2 separate regions of the Homo sapiens genome follow, and region 1 is linked to region 2. Evidence: promoter capture Hi-C in human tissues and cell types (Jung and others, 2019). All regions are on one chromosome and are shown on one strand. The core of a region is centred on a gene start or on the middle of the fragment in contact, and the rest is flanking DNA. Distances in the headings are between cores, read along the strand shown.

Region 1 (6,188 bases), core at 566-3,065, 190 kb before region 2:
TAGCCTCTTCTACAATCCTATTCTGTTTCCGACATTTCCTTACTGATTTCTCCTGAGAGCATTTTCTTATAAAAGTCACTTGTGCAAACATCCTGTTTTAGATCTTTCTTTGGTGCCTCCAACTTAGCAGCATGGCTCAGGGTGAAACCTTTTTCAATATAGCCTTTTTTAGGATGAGAATCACCAACACGGTGGTTGTGTCCTATCCCTCAGATAAAACGATGTGAAGAAAAAAACAATCAAAGACAACTAGTTTAAAAGCAAACATGCATATTGAAATAAAAACTTTAAAAATTAAAATTCTTAAAAGAAGACCAAAAAAGTAAATGAACAAATAATAGAAAAAAATTGTAATGCGCAAAAATTGAAAAGAAAAAAAACAGCAAAATGTTCAGAGGTGTCCATTCAGGTGACAGTAAACTCAAGAGTTGATCAAAATCTATGGTAACCATTCATATTGTACAAAAACATTTTGAAGGACACTAATACTGAGATTAGGAATGCTGCTGTTTTAGATTGTGTGCTCTCTGGGGCAAACCCACAAAAGAGGATCTGAGAACATGTGGTATATTTGGACGATTAACCCAAGAAACACTGGAGGAAACTTGAAGAATGACCCTGGGAAGGAGGGAAAGTCATTATAGAGTGAGTTCATGATCAGAATGTTCCTGCAGGCATCTGGTATAAATCCCGCTGAAGACCTCTGGAAGACTGGTTTGACATACCCCCCACTGGAGGGAAACAAGCCAGGGCATATATTACCAACTCCCACTCATTCTCTGAGTGCTGTTCCTAGAGGCTTTAAGTCTCCAGCCCAGAGTTTGCTCCTTTATCCAGAGAAAGTCCTCAGGTAGAGAGTTCCAGGTGCCTGCTCTAAGGAACCATTTTCCTATGTTTGAATGGAGAGTGCTGATAGGATAGAGGTGGAGCCCCTGATATCATCTGCTGTGGTCTTCTCCCTCTGCAGGGAAGAACATCAGAAAATTTGACAGGTAAGGATGAGAATTCAAGAAGGAAAAATGAGACACAATGCCCGTATATTATTTGTATGCCTCAAAAATTAAAATTTATTTAAGATAGAGGAATAGCTCCATGTGATAAATTATGGTAGAGAGCAAATATTTCAATTCAGGGAACATGGGGTTGACATATTTCAGAGAAAATTCAAACTTGTATTCATTTGGTAGAGGGTAGCAACATAGTGTTTGGTGAGCATATTTGGAGGCCAAACTCAATCCAAGAATTGGTTGGAACTGAGGTTGTCCAATTGGCCTTGCATGATTCAGTTCACAGGTGGATCATATCAAGAATGCTGGTTAATAAAGGCAGGTGAGTATAGGTGAGGGCATCAGCAGCAAGAGCCACTAGAGCAGGTTGGGCGGCAGCAGGTGGACACACAGCAGCTGGGGCGGTAGCAGGTGGTCCTGCAGCAGGTGGTCTGGCCACAGCTGGGGCGGCAGCAGGTGGGCTGGCAGTACACAGACTGGCAGCACTGGGGTCTGAAGCAGCTGGACACACAGCAGCTGGGACGGCAGCAGGTGGTCCTGCAGCAAGTGGTCTGGCAGCAGCTGGGGCTGCAGCAGGTGGGCTGGCAGCACACAGACTGGCAGCACTGCGGTCTGCAGCAGCTGGACACACAGCAGCTGGGGCGGCAGCAGGTGGTCCTGCAGCAGGTGGTCTGGCAGCAGCTGGGACGGCAGCAGTTCTCTAGGCCACAGCCCTGGTCAGAGCACACAGAGCCACAACAGGAGTTGACCATGGTGTCAGAGGGTGGAGGTTCTGGGTGGATTTCCAGGAAGGTGGGTTTGGAAGGTTTGGAAGTTTCCTTGCCCCAGATCCTCTTTTATACCCTGCTAAGGCCTGATGTCATCAGATGCAACACTCTTTCCTTGTTATTATTTGTCCTGATATGTAGGCAATTATCAAATTAGGCAAGTTTGTTGTTCTGGTTAACTTATCCACATAGATGGAAACACTGTCTCCTTTCCCTAATGTGTTAGGACTCCTTAGCTCAGCTCTTCCTGAACCACCTCCTGTGTCTCTCTTACTATAGCTTCCTCCTAGAGCAGCCATGTGACATCTGCCTGTAAGCACATACTATGTGCTTCAGTCTCATTTGCTTAACACATCATGACTACTCTTGGGTGATTACTATTCTTACAGGCCCTTGACTCTTTCTGGTGACTCAGGAGGATAAAGCTGCATTTCAGTCTGATGGCTCCTTCATTATGGGTCAGATGGCCTGTGAAGGTTTCAGTGTGAAACAGATTTCAGTGTGAAACAGATGACCACTGGTGTGAGAACGAGAACACCGTAGGACCTATCGCTTTTTTATCTTCCGCACTCTGAATTGTGACCCATTTTCTAGACCTTCTGATGAGAAATACAGAGCTGTTTTAAGGTGGAAAACTAAGCTGTGAAAGTTTGATGTTTCCTTTTCTACAGAAACAACCCTCCAAAATTCAGATTCAGGGCCTCTTGGGGAATGTTGGCTTCAGAGAACAGCTATACTTAAAGGTCCAAGTCCCTCATTTTTTTGCTCCCTGGGGCAGATTTTCCTTGTGACTTTGCCTTTCTGCCTTCCTAGCTCTAACAGGGCACATGAGCTCATCTCTCCAGGTTCCAAAATTTTCTGGCCAACCCAAATTAGATGACTCAGTATCCTTTGCTTGCTCTAATTCGCTCCCAGCCCTCTTGCTTTCTCTGCTGAATTGCTGGGCCTTGAAGATGTCCTATACTCTGCTGCTTCCTTATAGAAGTTGTTGATCCAATTTCACACTTTACATCTTTGTTTTCAAAAAATAAATCAATAAAGAGAGAAAGAAAGCAGAAAACAGGTATCAAGAACAAAGGATATCAGCCTATATTTTTTCATGTAGGGATGGCTGACTATTGTTTCAAAAATGTGCTATGTTGTCAATTCATTAACTCATCAGTTAATAAATATATATGTATTTCCCCACCCCTGAGGAGTCAAGGAACCCAGGGAAGGGGGTGGAAAAATGTCTGACTTACCATGATAGAAATGTTTTATGAACTGGGCAGCCTCTGCAGATAATCAGGGGAGGAGTTTCAGTGTAAGCTGGTGTTTCTGAGGGAGATCCAAGAACCAGATGGAGGGGATTGGATGAATGAGGGAGATTCCCTTTCTTCTCTCAGGTGCTTATAAGTCTAATAAATCAAATTGTGGTGTTCTTATGATGCTGCTATGTTCCAAGCCAGTTCCTACTCCTGCCCTGGCCCTAATTTCCAGGTGATTCAAGCAGAATGAAAACAACTTGGGCTCCCAAGTGAACCCCTGCTTGGTGCGCTGGCTGGTGTTCTGAGCCTGCACTGTTCTCTGGCTCTGATGTACCCAGACATCATATTTTATTGAGGGATGAAAGTGGGTTCCATGATGCTGTGGAATTAAGACCCTGTGAGCCCCATGGTGGTGTACGAGAACAACTCTAAGATTTCCAGGAGACCTTGTATTCTGGAAAAGAATCGTGCCCTTGAGAAGCCGTGACGATTGGTGCCTGCTGATGATTCAGTAGAGATCACTTTATATTAACTATTTTTCTTCATGATGTGAGTGTGTGTGAGTGTGTGTGTGTGTGTGTGTGTTTTCCTTAAGATAAATTTACATTATATTTAGGAATCTCTCACGATTTCTTCTAGTACTTTAACAATTTCATTTTTTCTACCTCTACTCAGCTATAATTGAAATATAAAATTGTATGTATATAAGGTGTACACCCTGATGCTCTGATATGTATATATTGTGAAATTATTGTCATGATCAAATTAGTTCACCTCCACCACTTCACATAGTTACCATTTTTTGAGTGTGTGTAGTGAGAACATTTTAGATCTAGTCTTTCAGCAAATTTTAAATATACAATACAGTGTAATTAACTACAGTGACCATGCTGTACATTAGATCCTCAGAACCTATTCTTCTTATAAATGAATATTTTCTCCCTTTGACCAACATTTCCTCATTTCCTCCATCCACAACCTTTGACAATCACCATTCTACCCTCTGTTTCTATGAGTTTTTAGATTCCACATGTAAATGAGATTATTTGTCTTTCATTGTCTGACCTACTTCACTTAGCATAATGTCCTCAAAGTCCATCCATGTTGTCCCAAATGACAGGATTTTCTTCATTTCATGGCTAATAACATTTCAGTGTGTGTGTGTGTGTGTGTGTAAAATCCTTGCAATCTTACATTGGTGTTTGTGCCTTTGAGGACACAGTCTCCTCTTCCACACTTTACAAGTTCCCTTCAGCAGGGAAAGACTCTCAGCAGTCAACTCGGCCTGGGATTCTGGACGGGGAAGCTGGTAGCATTTGTGAACAGGCAGGGCTTACTCTTGGGGGTCTCTGGGTGGGTAAAACTCCTGCCCAGGCCCTGAGGTTCAGTGGGGCTGCTGCCTGGGCTTTTGTGCAGCTGTGGCTACTGGCTGGGATCCACGGTTAGGTGTGGCCACTGAACGGTTTCATTTTTATGTTGAATATTTTATCTGGATGAAATTTGTTTTGATTTAACAAATGAAAATCTCTCCTTTTTTTCTTCATTCTGTACATCTTTCATTAATCCCTTTTATTCTTTCTTGCTTTTTTCCCTTTCCTTCGTTTATTCCTGAATTTGGCTACCTGTTTTATAGTATATTTGAAGTAATCCTTTCCATACTGCTTTTAAGACACCAGCTTTAGGATATAATTAATTTGTATAGACTTTTTTTTTTTGAGATGGAGTCTCGCTCTTTCGCCCAGGCCAGAGTGCAGTGGCGCTATCTTGGCTCACTGCAAGCTCTGCCTCCCCAGTTCACGCCATTCTCCTGCCTCAGCCTCCTGAGTAGCTGGGACTACAGGTGCCCGCCACCATGCCTGGCTAATTTTTTGTATTTTTAGTAGAGATAGTGTTTCACCGTGTTAGCCAGGATGGTCTCGATCTCCTGACCTCGTGATCCACCTGCCTCTGCCTCCCAAAATGCTGGGATTACAGGAGTGAGCCATGTATAGACTTTTAAGTCAATTTCTGGGCTCTACTCAATGGCAAACTTCACTGTTTGAAAATCTCTGGGTTAGATATCTCTAACGTGACTTCCAGTTTACAAACCTATACATTTATGACTTTTTTTTGATTCCCTTTTACTTGATGACTCATTGTTATCCTTTATCCCTCCCATCCATGTTCATGCTTATCTTTTAAAATTTGTAATTGTCCTCAGGTTCAGTCATGTAAAATCCCATTTTTAAGAGTATGGATCCTATAAGATATAGTAATTTTCCCTACATGCTCCTCCTAGGAGAGAAGCAATTCAAAATAAAATACCCAGCCACAAATACCCGAAAGACATTTCTGTCTAACCTAAATTATGACTTAAAACAGTGATATAAACTCTTCAAAAATTATTTTTCCCAACAACCATATTACTAGGTTAGTGCTGAATGCACCAAAGTCCTCCAAATATTAGCCATAATTAGATAGGCCACAGGAATAAATACAACCTGCATTTTTATACTTCTGGCAACACATCTTGCCTGTTTTGTGCCTATGTTCATTTCAAAATTTAACTGAGACATAAGCTAATGTTTACCCAGAAAAGTGTATTTAGATTCTCATAAGAATAGAGCGATACCCTTACAAGAAAGAATAAAATATTAGAACTCTTTCATCCAGAAAGAAAATAGAAGGTTGGTTAAGAAACTCTTAAAAGCCTTGGCCGGGCATGGTGGCTCATGCCTGTAATCCCAGCACTTTGGGAGCCCGAGGCAGGTGGATCATGAGGTCAGGAGATCGAGACCATCCTGGCTAACACGGTGAAACCCTGTCTCTACTAAAAATACAAAAATTTAGCCGGGCACGGTGGTGGGTGCCTGTAGTCCCAGCTACTCAGGAGGCTGAGGCAGGAGAATGGCGTGAACCCGGGAGGCAGAGATTTCAGTGAGCCAAGATCGCGCCACTGCACTCCAGCCTGGGCGACACAGTGAGACTCCATCTCAAAAAAAAAAAAAAAAGAATGTGACTTTCTTTATGACACTAATGTTATATTGCTCTACTGATATGATAATGTACTTTAATTTTTGCCATTTTCTTCTTCGTCCTTGTCTAAATTTTGCTTCTAACTAAAGTCCTTAACTCTTGGGCCTATTGATATTATTTGGTTATGGAATGGAAATTATCTCAAAGACATG
Region 2 (5,882 bases), core at 1,271-3,770:
TTTGGGGGGTTGACAGTGACTAACGTATACAAAGAGACCAATGTGAAAATCACTTTCAAACTTACTCCAGACGTTGGGTTGAAAAGGAGTAAGAATGGATGGTGTCTTACAATCAAACTTAAAGCACAGGGCTGCGCACAGTGGCTCACGCCTGTAATCCCAGCAGTTTGGGAGGCTGAGGCGGGTGGATCACTTGAGGTCAGGAGTTCAAGACCAGCCTGACCAACATGGTAAAACCCGGTCTCCACTAAAAATATAAAAATTAGCTGGGCCTGCTGGCGCATGCCTGTAATCCCAGCTACGAGGAAGGCTGAGGCAGGAAAATCACTTGAATCCGGGAGGCGGAGGTTGCAGTGAGCCAAGATTGCATCACTGCACTCCAGCCTGGATGAGAGAGGGAGACTCCATCTCAAAATAAAAAAATTAAAAAAAAAAACTTAAAACACAGAATCTGAGCACCTATTGAAGAGGCTTTGACATTTAACCTAATCCTAACCCAATGCAAGAATCCTCCCAATAGAAATTTCTGCTTCCACATTCCAGGATAGGGAGCTCATCACTTTGTAATTCAGCCTGTCCGTTACTAGACTGCTCTGATGGTTAGGAAAATCTTACTTGGTTCTGAAGTCATCTGCAGCCAGCTTGGCATTGTCGATCTGCACCACCAGCCTGGCATTCTCAGACTTGCTGCACAGGATCTGGGGATAGGATTAATCATGAAATGGGTTATACTAAGAAATGCCTTGTGCCTTAAAGTGAAATGCTATTTTCTTTCAGCCACATTCCTCCCAAATAGCTTTGAGTCCTTTCAGATTTTCAGCTCTGAGATAAAAGGAGGATTTGATCATAAAACTGATCATTTCAAAACCAGGACAACCAATGTGAATTCATCATGAATTCTATTCTTATCTGCTTCTGGCTTCCTGCAATAATTAGGTTACTGGGTATCCAACCCTTCGGTTGGGTGACCAACCATCCCAGTTAACTTAGGACTGAGGGGTTTCTGGGATGCTAAAATGGGAAAAATCCCAGGCAAGCCAGAACAACTTGGTTATCCAACACATTCCACCTGCTAACTTCTCTCCACTCTCCCCTCATATTGCCCTTGTTCATGCCTTTGCAAAAAGCTTCTTGCTGTACCCAGAATGCCCTCACCCACTAGCAAGACCCCTTGTGTAACCCACATACTTAATCAATAACACTTCTTATGACCTTTGTGTGATCATTTTGTTTCCACATCTATCTCCCCTGTTAGACTGTGAGCTCCTGAAGGAAGGAGACTGTCTTACTCAGTACATTATCCCCCACCCCAGCACTGTGCCTAACACTCTCCAACTCTGGGTAAATAAATGAATGATATTCAAATAGCACAACCCCTTTCTGGCATCTAATTTTCCAGATCTACAGAACAGTGGGCAGTCAATTCCCTCCCAGAATCAAGGGCTTGTACAATTGGATATAAACTCCCACTCATCCTTCAAACCCCACTCAGACATTGCCTCTTCTGGGATCCCTCCCAAACCTACACCAGGTATTCAGTCCCAATTCTCTGTGGACTCTTTACTTATATCTACTTCTCTTCCAGAACAGATGGCCCCATATTGTCATCTGTACACATGGCTGCTCTAGAGGATGGTCCATGTGTCTGTAGATATTGCTGGAGTCAACAGCTCTCTTGTGTTGCCATAAATGCTATATTTTGCTACAGCTTTGAAAGGCTTTAAATATTTGAAGATTTACTTAGGAAATTCTTAGCATAGAAAATAATTCAGGTGCATACTTTTTGAAAATGCGGTAATGCTCTGAAAACAAAACCAGGGTATCATAATCAAACCAAAAAATCAGATATTCTGGTTTGGAGTAAGACGCCATATAAGATTGCTATGACTGATTTTGGTCTAATGCTTCACTCTAACACCAGCCTGCATCCTTCCTTTGTGGCTCTACAACAGATTTTCTAAGACTACTTGATGTCATACCTAAGCCAGTGAATCTATGTCTTTATCATTCTCAGCATTACTGTGAACAGACTTAGATCCATTCACAGTTTAGTATGTCAAATATAGATAAGTAGTTCATTAAGCTGGCAGTGTGGTGCCCACCTCCTCACCTTCTGCTGGAGCTCCTCAATGGTCTTGAAGTAGGACTGGTAGCTGGGGCACAGCAAGGGCTCCTGCTGCTGAGACCGCTCCCGGATGAGGTTCTCCAGCTCCGCGTTGTCCCGCTCCAGCTGACGCACCTTCTCCAGGTAGCTGGCCAGGCGGTCGTTCAGGAACTGCATAGTCTCCTTCTCGCTGCCATTGAAGGAGCCCTCGCAGAACCAGTTGCAGTTGCTCACATTGGCAGGGATGTTGCAGGCCCCGGGCAGGGTGTAGCCGTGGCAGCTGGGGGGCACACAGGGCCGGGAGGAGCAGCTGGTGCGGCAGCTCAGGCTGGGCAGGCAGAAGTTGTAGGGCATGGTGCAGGGAGGCAGTGGAGCTCTGGAAGTCAGTTTCAAAACCTGATTCCTTTTCCCTGGGATAAGCCTTGGTCCTTTCCAGGGCTTTATATTCTGTTAGCAGTGGGTGTGGCAACCATGTCAAGTATTCCTCCTTTTTACCTCCTTTGCTGATTTTTCCATTTGTTATTTAGCCACTTCACCTGAGTCCTATACCTCATTAAATGTTTTACTCTGGCTTCTTGCTAAGTCAGGACTCCTCACAAAACATGCTGATTGGTTAAGTAAGAGCTTCATGGTTTGGCTTCAAAGTGACCAACCTTGCCTGTAGCAGTGCTTATCCATGGGACATTGAGCTAGAGTGACAGCTGGGCCCTGTCCCCAGAGTAGGGGGCACATATGTGCCTCTTTCTCCTAAATGAGGAAAGGCTTGTGTCTCATCCAGTTCATATTCAATTAAGACTCTGTGAGAAAAGCCATGTAAGGAAACCCGTCTAGAAACTAGACTATGTGATAGGGAATCCTGGAAGCTGAAATGAGAAAGGACTTACAAGGCCATTGGTTCAAGGCCCATTTGCAGTTCCATCCAGGCAGATGGAGGCAACTCTACCCTCTTCCTATGGGGCTGCAGGAAGCCACCCACCTCCGTTTCTACTAGTATTCAGTGTTCACAGAACATTAAGAAACCTAAATTTTGGGAGCACCTACTCTGCATGAAGCACTGTGCTCCATGCCTGTGCACAGCGTGACTCTGTCATTGGTGATGGGTCCTGCTTGCTGAGCCTCCACTGTGCACCAGGCACAGTGCCAGGCACCTCATATGCACCAGCTCCTTCAGTCCTCTCAAAATGCTGCAAGGGTTTGTAGATAAGGACCCTAAGCCTCTGAGAGGTCTCCCAAGGTCACAGAGCTCCTACATGATGGAGCCAGGGTTCAAATACAGATCTCTCTAATTCCAATGTCCACACTCTGTCATATTACATGTCTCTCTCTTCCAATCTTTTCAGTACTGAGATGCAATAATGCAAAAAATACAGATTGAGCTCCATTGAGCTCAATCAGTGCTGACAATATCCTAAATTAGAATGGGCCAAAAAATAACAAGCCTGTTTTTTACTTATTAAAGAACCAAAAGTCACTTCTATGCTGAAGGAAGGAAGTTTACTAAGTGAAAATGCCTCATACCCACTAGAAGCTTGAAAAAAAAAAAAAAAGGAAACCCTTGGTTGATCTGAGGGAGAAATACCCAAGCCTAGCTCTCCAAAGGATATGACCCTGAAAATCCACCACTATGTCATGTGCATGAAGTGGCATTTTATGACCATTGGCACATTTTGGCAAGCAGATGCTCTACTCTCATGCATTCCAGATGGAACTATGAAATATGAGGATTTTATGTTTAATCTATCAGTGCTCAAATTCTGAAAGATACTCCTCCAAGTTGTTCCTTTTGGAAGCTACATATTAAGTCTTGCCATACAAGAATTCTTTTCCTACAGGTGACCTGCCATTCCTCAGATCACCCTTCCTTCAAACTTGCCTTCACAGCTTGGGACACATTCTTTTGGTTATCCTCATTGAAGGCCAATCTTCATCTTCTATGGGTGTGTTTATTTTTGGAACCAGCCAGAAGTCATTTGAAACCACACCTAGTGCATAGGGTGAATAACCAAGCTGCATAGCATCTTTAATGGGTCAGAAACAGGTTGTGACTACAAAATAATAATGTGTGTTTTCTTGGGTGACTCTGGAAGTCATTTCCAAGGAGAAGCTTCAAATATGCTTTTATAAAGGACAGCAGCTTTGGGGCAAACATGTGGTCTTCCAGGGTGAATGCATTGAAGGTACTGATATCCTCCCCTACAATCACAATCCACAACTTTCTGCCCCTCCTGCCTGAATCTCTAATTTTTTTTTTTTTTTTTTTTTTTTGGAGACAGAGTCTCACTCTATTGCTCTATTGCCCAGGCTACAGTGCAGTGGTGCAATCTCAGCTCACTGCAACCTCCGCCTCCCAGGTTCAAGCTATTCTCCTGTCTCACCCTCCCTAGTAGCTGGGATTAGAGGCGTGCACCACCTGTAATGTGCCTGGCTAATTTTTGTATTTTTAGTAGAGACAGGGTTTCACTATGTTGGGCAGGCTGGTCTCAATCTCCTGACCTCAGGTGATCCACCCGCCTCAGCCTCCCAAAGTGCTGGGATTACAGGAGTGAGCCACTGCACCCGGCCTGAATCTCTACCTTTAAAATGATTCCACTATCAGTGAGATGTGGCATGGGCATATTGGTTTAAAATCAGTACCAAACCATTAAAGTCCTATTGGATGAGATCAAATAACATAAAGCAAATAGCTGAATTCATTAGCTTTTCTCTAATTACCTTGTGTTCTTCTCTCCTTCTTCTACGTCCCAAGCTTCAAAAGGAAAAATCTGACAATGGCACTTTTTAAAGAAAAGGGAAGGAATAGTGTGTCACAGACTGGTAAATATGTCCACAGGGATCCCTATAACCATTGCTGTAGCTTCTACCTCAGTCACAGTGGAATAATCCAGAGATAAGTATCCTTGTGTCTTTAAAAGTGGAGGTCAGAGTTTAGAAAACACAACTATTCCCACATCTTGAGTAGAAGTAACTATAATTTCTGCACAGCTACTTGGCCATTATGTACTAATAGTTGGAAGAACTTGGGTCTATGGAGAAAAGAGCCAAGTTTCAATTAGCTTCTCACAAAGTCTGGAAGGCAATTGCTTTTTACTTACTCCACTTGCTGTGTACTGTGAATTCTTATCTTTACATGGGTGATGCTATTGTCTCTGTTCAATGGCCCTTCATTAAACATGACAAGTAAGTCAAATCCTAACAAACCGAAAGGTTTTATACATGCCCATGTAATAGCGGCAGATGCTATGGTTGAGGCTTCTGGTCTTAAGATGTGAGCAAATTGCAGTTGAGGTTTAAGGATGCTATTTATTATGGAAGCCCGGGCTATTTCCATAGAAGAGATCACATGCCAACCCACCAGCGATGCTTAACCACGGAGTGGACATAGGATGGGGCTTCTGCTGAGGCCACCTTCCTCATTGTGGGACTTCAAAGGCATTAGGAGGCCTCCCTCCTTCTTCCCAAAGCCATCTTCTCCAATGTCCAGGCTCTGGTGCTTGAAATTGTCACCGTGAGAAATGTAAAATTTATTCTTTTAGAAATACGAAGTTACATTGGGCTACTTGAAAATTAATTATATTTTAATATGTACAAATGAGAAGGAGAGGCCAGGAGCAGTATCACTACATGCACACAGAGCAAGAAGATGGACTTTTTGCCAAAGAGGGATCCCAGAGGGGAATTAGAAAAGCAGAAAGACTGTCCAATAACAACCCCAGCCCATGGTTTTGGGCCAGCCTGTTAGAGCTTCCTAGAAGAGCAGAAGATAGGGCTTCCACAAACT

What was found. The method cuts DNA at HindIII sites, captures the fragments that hold promoters and counts their contacts. A contact is called where the count stands out against the background at its distance.
Region 1: a contact is called between the fragment with the promoter of KRTAP4-2 here and the fragment with the promoter of KRT33B in region 2, in 2 of the 25 tissues and cell types used here (IMR-90 fibroblasts and heart left ventricle).

The regions. Positions count from the first base shown.
Region 1 is chr17:41,176,406-41,182,593 of GRCh38, forward strand. KRTAP4-2 (keratin associated protein 4-2) reads right to left here and starts at 1,816. Exons shown (of 1, transcript NM_033062.4): 1 at 1,041-1,816. The coding sequence starts at 1,759. The coding sequence ends at 1,349. The HindIII fragment of the contact is 21,892 bases long and covers 1-6,188 here.
Region 2 is chr17:41,367,293-41,373,174 of GRCh38, forward strand. KRT33B (keratin 33B) reads right to left here and starts at 2,521. Exons shown (of 7, transcript NM_002279.5): 1 at 2,111-2,521; 2 at 616-698. The coding sequence starts at 2,458. The HindIII fragment of the contact is 10,508 bases long and covers 1-3,920 here.